Linked DNA regions of Homo sapiens: region 2 is linked to region 1. Evidence: promoter capture Hi-C in 16 types of primary human blood cells and fetal thymus (Javierre and others, 2016). All regions are on one chromosome and are shown on one strand. The core of a region is centred on a gene start or on the middle of the fragment in contact, and the rest is flanking DNA. Distances in the headings are between cores, read along the strand shown.

Region 1 (4,764 bases), core at 6-2,505:
AAAGCAGTTGCTGAAAAATAGCACCTGATGGTGAGTAATGGACAGCAATCAGGTTTTTGTTATGTTTTCTTGTTGTTTTTGTGACAGGGTCTCCGCCCTCTGTCACCCAGGCTGGAGTGCAGTGGTGTGACCTCGGCTCACAGCAACCTCTGCCTCCCGGGCTCAAGTGATCCTCCCAACAGACTCCTGAGTAGCTGGGACTACACGCATGTGCCACTTTGCCCAGCTAATCTGTGTATTTTTTGTAGAGATGGAGCTTCGCCGTGATGGCCAGGCTGATCTTGAACTCCCGGGCTCAAGTGGCCCGCCGGCCTCGGCCTCCCAAAGTGCTAGGATTACAGGCATGAGCCACCGTGACCAGCCTAGCAATCAGGTTTTTATCTGTTTCGGGTGTGGGAGAGGCTAAGCTAAGCCAGAATTCAAAAGAAAGGAATATATTCATAATTAGTTACACTTAGGGTGAAAAATAAAATTTCAGAGAGAGCAGAATAGGAAAAAAAAATCATAATTTTAATAATTCACACTTATTGCACTATTGTTATTTCAATTTTACAGAGAAAAACAGGCATAGAGTGATGAAATAGCAAGTACATATATAAACAACAAATGGCAGAGCTGGAACGCCAATCCTAGCAATCTGAACCAGCATTTAAAAACGAGGAATTAAAGCACATAGGGTGAGAAAAATTATAGGGAAGGGACAAGAGCTCAAGGGGACACCTGGAAAAGAAATACTATAATTTAAAAAATTACCAACGGGCTAATTATACTTGTGTTTTACTGGCAGAGCGCTTTGTCTGTTAGCTCTTTTAATCCCGCTAATAATTCTGTGAGGTTGGTACTATAAGTTCCATTTTTCAGACAAGGACGCTTAATAGATGATAACGGACACATTCCCTGCTTGCTCTGATCTGCATCTCAACAGCTGGCTCTGGAGCAAGCAAAGGGAGACTAAGGGAAACAGAGCGGAGCAGGGCAAAGAAAGCCGACTGAAAGTGAGAAATGCAGGAAATGTTTCCCATCTAGGCAGAAGCTGGTTCCAGCATTCAAATCTCTCCAGCCGGCCCGCCACCACGTCACAAAGCCCGCCTCTCAGTGACAAAGCCCCGCCCCGTTCCCTTGGCTGTTCTCTGAGCTCCCAATACTTCCCTCCTTCTCTTTGGCCCCTGCTACCCCGCCTAGCATCATTTCCTGTGCGCTGGATGCTGATTGGTCCGACAGTCGGAAGTGAGGGCGGGCGGTGGGGGCCGTTGCCGCAGTGACAGTGCTAGGGGAGTCCGAAGATGGCGGCGTCGCGTCGCTCTCAGCATCATCACCACCATCATCAACAACAGCTCCAGCCCGCCCCAGGGGCTTCAGCGCCGCCGCCGCCACCTCCTCCCCCACTCAGCCCTGGCCTGGCCCCGGGGACCACCCCAGCCTCTCCCACGGCCAGCGGCCTGGCCCCCTTCGCCTCCCCGCGGCACGGCCTAGCGCTGCCGGAGGGGGATGGCAGTCGGGATCCGCCCGACAGGCCCCGATCCCCGGACCCGGTTGACGGTACCAGCTGTTGCAGTACCACCAGCACAATCTGTACCGTCGCCGCCGCTCCCGTGGTCCCAGCGGTTTCTACTTCATCTGCCGCTGGGGTCGCTCCCAACCCAGCCGGCAGTGGCAGTAACAATTCACCGTCGTCCTCTTCTTCCCCGACTTCTTCCTCATCTTCCTCTCCATCCTCCCCTGGATCGAGCTTGGCGGAGAGCCCCGAGGCGGCCGGAGTTAGCAGCACAGCACCACTGGGGCCTGGGGCAGCAGGACCTGGGACAGGGGTCCCAGCAGTGAGCGGGGCCCTACGGGAACTGCTGGAGGCCTGTCGCAATGGGGACGTGTCCCGGGTAAAGAGGCTGGTGGACGCGGCAAACGTAAATGCAAAGGACATGGCCGGCCGGAAGTCTTCTCCCCTGCACTTCGCTGCAGGTCAGAGACTTTTGAATTGTTTATTAAGGGTTATGGGTTTGGGTGCAGGGTCCGGTTAGGACAAGAAAACAGGTTATTGTGATGGGACAAAGTGGGGGCGTGGTTATGGTTCTTCATCACCTCACCAGAAGACTGGAGGTTCCTTTCTTTTGGTGGTGCCTGGGTGATGGGGGCGTGGTTGGGGGGGATAAGTGAATCCAAGGAATTCTTCAGTGGTTGCACAGTACTCATTACAAAACTCACTGTAGTTGGTAGTCTCTGCATATGGATATATTTACACTTTAGTTTTTGGTGTGCAGGAATACAGTTAGATTTGGACAGCTTTAGAGTAGTTTTGTCGTTTGTGTGCTAGTTTATTTTGTTTTTACAAGGGTATGTCCTTTGAGGACAGTCCAGACCAAAAGAGGTTTAATACAACCCAACACATGTTTGAGGATCTATTGTAGCCTTAATAACCCAATGAAAGACATAAATGAAGTGTTTGAAAGTTTCCCTTCTTCTAAAGAAGTTTGCAGTCTAGACGGGGAGACCAAAATATGCCAATGTGAAACAACTGGAGAAGAATATTTGGATGCATTATATGATGATGGAAGAAATATAGGCTTTGATGTTGTGGCCACTATTATTTGTTGTCTAGCAGACCATTTACCTCGTGTCAGTTGCCTCAGTTTTCTCATGGGCAAAAATCATAAAATGATGTTGTGCGAGCATTTGGTGAGAAGTATCTGGCACAAAGTTCTCCCTCAAAAAGTGTGAATTTCTTAAGCTCTGGACCCCACACTTGTCTTTTTTTTTTTTTTTGCAAGTAGTTGATGATTTTCTCTCAAAGACACCTAATAATATGTTTATAAAATAAAGAGAACTGTAAAATAAAAACAAAGGACCATAATCTCACTGCCTGGATACCTATTGTTGATATTTTAAAAATGTAGGTAATAATGTTTTATACATTAGAAACATTATATTGGAAATACATATATTGTACGTTATACAATTCAAATAGGACAGAAAAATACAAAATGAAAGGCATCACACAGAAACATCAGAGATAACACACCAGAGATAACTTCTGTTAAGTTTCTCCTATATTTCTAATATATATATATATCACTTCTTCAGTTTGTTCTGTTAACAGTAAAACATGTGTTGACCCACTGTAGTATTTATTTTTACCACACTTGGGAGATATGATTAACCATTTTACAGATGACAAAAGTGAAGCATATATCGATCGCTTAAATAAGTCCAAATTCAGTCAGGAAATAGTGGAAATTGAGTTTGAATTCAGGCAGTTTGATTTTAGAGCTTGTGAAATCAAACTTAAACTGTCAGAACCCTGGATTAAGGTCACTTTTCATTTTTGTGAGTAATTGAAGTGTAGAGTTCCCAATTTTTGGGAGAAGTAGTAATGCGGAGGGGCTTATATGCAAGAGAGTAGCTTTCACATGTTTTTTATTGTAGCCCATACTTAGAAATACATTTTACATTGTCACATACGCAACTGAATCAAAAGTTTCTGGAAACAATACTTTCCCTTAATACATGTGTTGTCCTCTGATATTTTATATTTTATTCTGTTTCATTTTTAGCAAATGCTGCTTGTGATCCATTAATGGGTCGTGACCAGTGGTATGAGAAACACTTAAAGGAAATCATTGTTAGGTCACTGGATTCATTATTGATATACAGACACTACTTATTAGGAATGCAGTGAATTGAATCAGAAACAGACTTTTGCCTATTTGTTTGCTCAAGGGTCTTGCTTGTTTTAGATGAAATAGCATTTCTTTTTCCTTAGGCTAAATGAAAGGCCTAAGTCTGATTTTATTAATCAACAGAGGTGTCTACTTTTGCATACTTTATTCCAAGTTTGCCTATTTTAACAAATTGCGTCACAAATCATGTCATTTCTCACCATCCCACTTTATGCGTAATCACCAATAAATGATAGTTATATTTATGTGTATTAATGTATTTAGGATAAGTCACACAAAATAGTGCTTGTTTCTCAAATCACGTGTCTTCTATTTGCCACAATAGTTACTTGTTATTCTGTTTCAGAGTTTTATGTATATCCAGATAAGCTAGAAGATAAACAATCAAACAGTACCGTAATTATGTTGTAGTTATGACAAGCTAACCTTGAATTGGCTTTTTAAGAAAGTTTTTAGCTCAGTTGTGGAAAACACAGTAATAAAATTCTCGATATGAAAACATAATGTCCTGTAGTCAGTTTGCCACGCTTCCGTGATTGAATTCGTAACATTAAAGTTTTATTAAACTTTAGTCTTCTTTATCATGTATAGGCTGAGAAATGAAAAAAATTATCAGTTGACTGGTTATTATGATAGTAATTGAATTGTCACGGAATAGCTGTTTTAAAGATGAGAAATTGGTACAATCCCTTGGATGGAAAAATTTAAAAACTGCAGTTTATTTGTTCCAGAAATATTTTAGTGTGCTTAGATGATCGGGTGTTAAATACTGACACAATTGTGTAATGGCAAGCAGCCCTTAACCCTTATGGAGCTTACAGTCTAGTGGGGAAGCATAAACAACAACAACAACAAAAACCTATAAAGTATCTAGTGTCTAATCTAGAGTGATAGGAAACGTATATTATACTGTCTGTCCCAATATGTAATAGGAGCTCTTATCCTTGTTTTAGAGCAGTTAAGGAAGTCTTTGTAGGTAGATTTTTTTAAAGCAGGAATTAAAAGGGTGAGCCCAAGCTAGCCAAGCAAAGGTTGGAAGGGACGATGTTAACTAATGCTTTTATTTATTTTTAAAAATGAGTTTACAGTTCTA
Region 2 (4,336 bases), core at 1,531-4,030, 520 kb before region 1:
TGCATCTTTGATTCCAGCGACATATGATAAAATGTTTTGCACATAGTTGAATCCAGCGTTGATACATGAAGGACAGCATTACATCTTTTTTCTATTATACTTAGAAATTTCCTCTTTGTTCTGCACCACCAACCTGTATATCAAGCCTCCTTGCCCCACAAAGCTTCCAAAGCCCGTAAATTTGTTAATCTAGAGCAGGGGTCAGCAAACTACCACCCATGGGCCAAATCTGGCTGCTGCCTATTTTTGTATGGCCTACAAACTATGGTTTTTATATTCCCTTTTGTTAATGGCTCAAAATAATATTTTGTATAATACGAAAATTACGAAATTTTAGTTTCTCTAAATAAAGTTTTGGAAAGAACTACCATTCTCATTTGTTTTCATGTCATCTCTGACCACTTTTGTGCTACAATGGCAGAGTTGAATAGCTGCATCAGTGGCACCATCTGGCCAGCAAGGCCAAAAAATACTACTGTCTGGCCCTTTATGGAGAAAGTTTGCCTACCCTTACCTCCCTTATGTAATGCAATATATAAGTTCCATCAACAAACAAGAAATGCGACTGTGATGAGAGCGTAGAGCTGAATGTTAAGGTACAATGATACTTGCATCAGACATTTATGGAGCACTGTTAAGTACTTTACTCCATTGTTTAGTAAGAATCTGGTGATGGAGAGAGGCATTCTCTGCAGTTTACAGATGGGAAAGTTGAGGTCCAGAGCGGTTAAGTTGCCAAAGTTTAAGTAGTGGGAGCTGTAGATTCTGGCAGTATGGCTTGAGCCTTGCTCTTTATCTCTGTGCTATGCTGCCTCCCGTTGTAGACTTTGGCTTAACCTGATATTCCAGGAACAGGTAGGTTGTCCTAGGTAGAATAAACATCTTCCTGTATGGTTTAAACTAGACATTTTCAATGCGATTGTACTAAATGTTGCAAATCAGGAGGTAATTTGATGTTCATTCTTTGAATGAAACAATATAAAATACTGTTAACTTCTAATGTGACCAGCTGTAAGGTTTTTTCGGAGATGGGGATAAGTGGAGAAGGAGAACGATTTTTGCTTTAAAATTTCCTCCATGTTCTTGAGATTAGAAATGTTAGTGTCTTGAGTTTATAATGACACAGAGGCTAAAGGGCTTAAGTTTGACTGATGAAGAGTTGGAAGTACTTGTTTTTCTGGATTCCTTACCAAGACTTGGGTAAGGGGCGGATGCCCGAGGCTTTAAACCAGATCTGCTTTTCTACTTGCAAGTGAATGTTCTCAAGGTAAATTTCATTAGATTTGTTTTAGGATGAATACTGCTCAATCATTGTGGAGCCACAAGGCATGCTTCATTTTATTGCACTTCTCTTTATGTGCTTCGCAGATACTATTTTGTTTTGTTTTGTTTTTTAACATACTGAAAGTTTGTGTGAATCCTGTGTGGAGAAAGTCTATTTATGTCATTTTCCCAACAGCATACTTTCACTTCATGTCTCATATTTTGGTAATTCTCCCTATATTTCAAACTTTTTGATTATTATTATCTCTCTTAGGGTGATTTGTAATCAGTGACTTTTGATGTTACTATCATGGTGGTTTTGGGGCACCACAGACCACACCCATATAAGACAACGAACTTAATTGATAAATGTCTGTGTTTTCCCCATCGCTCCCTCTCCAGACCTACCTATTCCCTGAGACACAATATTGAAATTAGGGCAATTAATAAGCCTACAGTGGCCTCTAAGTGTTCAGGTGAAAGGAAGAGTCACATGTCTTCCACTTTAAATCAAAAACTAGAAATGATTAATCTTAAAGAGGAAGGCATGTCAAAAGCTAAGACGGGCTGAAAGCTATGCCTTTTGATCCAAATTAGCAAAGTTGTAAACCCAAAGGAAAAGTTGTTGAAGGAAATTAAAAGTGCTGCTCCAGTGAGCACACAAGTGATAAGAAAGCAAAACAGCCTTATTACTGATATGGAGAAAGTTTTAGTGGTGTGGATAAAAAATCAAACTGCAACATTTCCTTAAGCCAAAGCCTAATCTAGAGCAAGACTGTAACTGTCTCATATTCTGTGAGGGTTGAGGGAGGTAAGGAAGCTGCAGAAGAAAAATTTGAAGCCAGCAGAGATTGGTCCATGAAATTTAAAGAAAGAAGCTGTCTCCATAAAACAGTGCAAGGTAAAGCAGCAAGTGCTGATGTAGAAATTATAGCAAGTTATCTAGCTAAGATCTAGCTAAGTTATCTAGCTAAGATCTAGCTAAGATAACTAATGAAGGTGGCCACACCATACAACAGGTTTTCAATGTAGATGAAATAGCCTATTCGAAGAAGATAACATCTAGGACTTTGATAGCTGGAGAGAAGTCAGTGCTTGGCTTCAAAGCTTCAAAGGACAGGCTGATTGTTGTTAAGGGCTAATGTAGCTGGTTTAAGTTGAAGTCAGTGTTCATTAACCATTCTGAAAATCCTAGGGCCCTTATGCTAAATCTACTCTGCCTGTGCTCTATAAAGGGAACGGCAAAGCCTGAATGACAGCACATCTGTTTACTACATCATTTACTGAATATTTGAAGCCTGCTGTTGAGACTTAGTGCTCAGGAAAAAAAAAAATCTGTTCAAAATATGACTGCTCATTGACAATGCATCTGGTCATCCAGGAGTTCTGATGGAGTTGTATAAGGAGATTAATGTTGGTTTTAATGCCTACAAACACAATATCCATTCCACAGCCCATGGATCAAGTAGTAGTTCTGGCTTTCAAGTCTTACTATTTAATAAATACATTTCATAAGGCTGTAGTTAGCATAGGTAGTGATTCGTCTGATGGATCTAGGCAAAGTCAGTTGAAAACCTTCTGGAAAGGATTCACCATTCTATTCTGAATGCCATTACAAGCATTTGTGATTCGTGAGAGGAGGTAAAGATATCAACCTTAACAGGAATTTGCAAGAAGTTGATTTCAGTCCTCATGGATGACTTTTAGGGGCCCAAGACTTCAGTGGAAGAAGTCACTGCTGATGTGGTGGAAATACCAAGAGAACTAGAAGTGAAGATGTGACTGAATTGCTGCAGCCTCATGATAAAACTTGAGGAATTACTTCTTACAGATAAGCAAAGAAAGTGATTTCTTGAGATGGAATCTATTCCTGGTGAAGATGCTGTAAACATTCTTGAAATGACAGCAAAGGATTTAGAATATTACATAAGCTTAATTGATAAACCAGTGGCGTGGTTTGAGAGGATTGCCTCTAATTTTGAAAGAAGGTCTGTGGATAGAATGCTATCAAACAGCATGATAAAGAGAAATCTTTTGTGAAAGCACAAATATCAGTTGATGGAGCAAACTTCATTGTTGTCTCATTTTGAGAAACTGCCACAGCCACTCCAATCTTCATCACCTACCACCCTGATCACTCAGTAGCCCTCAACGTTTGAGGCAAGATCCTACACCAGCAAAAAGATTATGGCTTGCTGAACACTCATGATTGTTACCTTTTTCTAGAAATTTAATCTTTAAGGTATATATGTATTTTTTAGACATAATGCTTTTGCACACTTCATAGACTATTGTTTAAATTTAACTTTTATATGCACTGGGGAGCCAAAACATTTGTGTGAGTTGCTTCATTGTGATACTCCCTTTATTGCAGTGGTCTGGAACTGAACCTGCAGTATCTCTGAGGTATGCCTGTATATAGTATGATCAAGAGCAAGTTTAGAATACAAGTCATTTTTTTTTTCTATTGAGTAAAAGAACAAAAGAGGAGCAAGGTTGTGATTTTCTGTTTGCTAATGTAGTGTGGCACACCATCACTGGTGATGGCAGATTGATGGAGGGCAGCGATTGAGCCTTCCCCTTGAAGTGTCCATTCTTGCTTGCCGACTCTGCACCTTTGAACATAGACCTGTTTTCCCTTTGGATTTATTTTTGTCAGTGGGACCATGATTATCACAGTCACATAGGATTGAAACCATGAAACTCATAGTCCCTCCCTCCCCCTTTTAGCACAATGTCCTTTATTGTCCAGTCACTTTATCCTCACCCCAGCCTCTGTTATCATCATTGCTACACAGACTATTGCTAAAATTTAACAGACTTCTCTCTTGCTGTCTCTTCCTGTATACCACTGTCATAAAAAACCTTCCTAAAATGTTGCTTTGCACACTGATCTCAGAAACCTTCACATTTCTGATGGGATAAAACTCAGCTCTCTGTTGGCATATAAGAACCTTCACAGTCTGATTTCTGTCTGCCAACTTTTACAGTAACCATCTGCTCTAGGGTAATAGTTACTCCCCTCACCATCACACTCGCGTTGAGTCGCATGTGCACCATCCTACTTCTGTCC

What was found. The method cuts DNA at HindIII sites, captures the fragments that hold promoters and counts their contacts. A CHiCAGO score of 5 or more calls a contact.
Region 2: a contact is called between a fragment that was not itself captured here and the fragment with the promoter of TNKS in region 1, in 1 of 17 cell types (neutrophils). The highest score is 9.8, in neutrophils.

What each region holds. Positions count from the first base shown.
Region 1 is chr8:9,554,657-9,559,420 of GRCh38, forward strand. It overlaps TNKS (tankyrase), which reads left to right and starts at 1,256. Exons shown (of 27, transcript NM_003747.3): 1 at 1,256-1,956. The coding sequence starts at 1,284. RefSeq lists enhancers at 939-1,600, 1,601-2,260 and a silencer at 1,359-1,518. The HindIII fragment of the contact is 11,121 bases long and covers 1-4,764 here.
Region 2 is chr8:9,032,975-9,037,310 of GRCh38, forward strand. It overlaps ERI1 (exoribonuclease 1), which reads left to right. Exons shown (of 7, transcript NM_153332.4): 7 at 1-364. Among named protein-coding and RNA genes, the nearest start is that of MIR4660, 13 kb to the right of the region's middle. The HindIII fragment of the contact is 824 bases long and covers 2,369-3,192 here.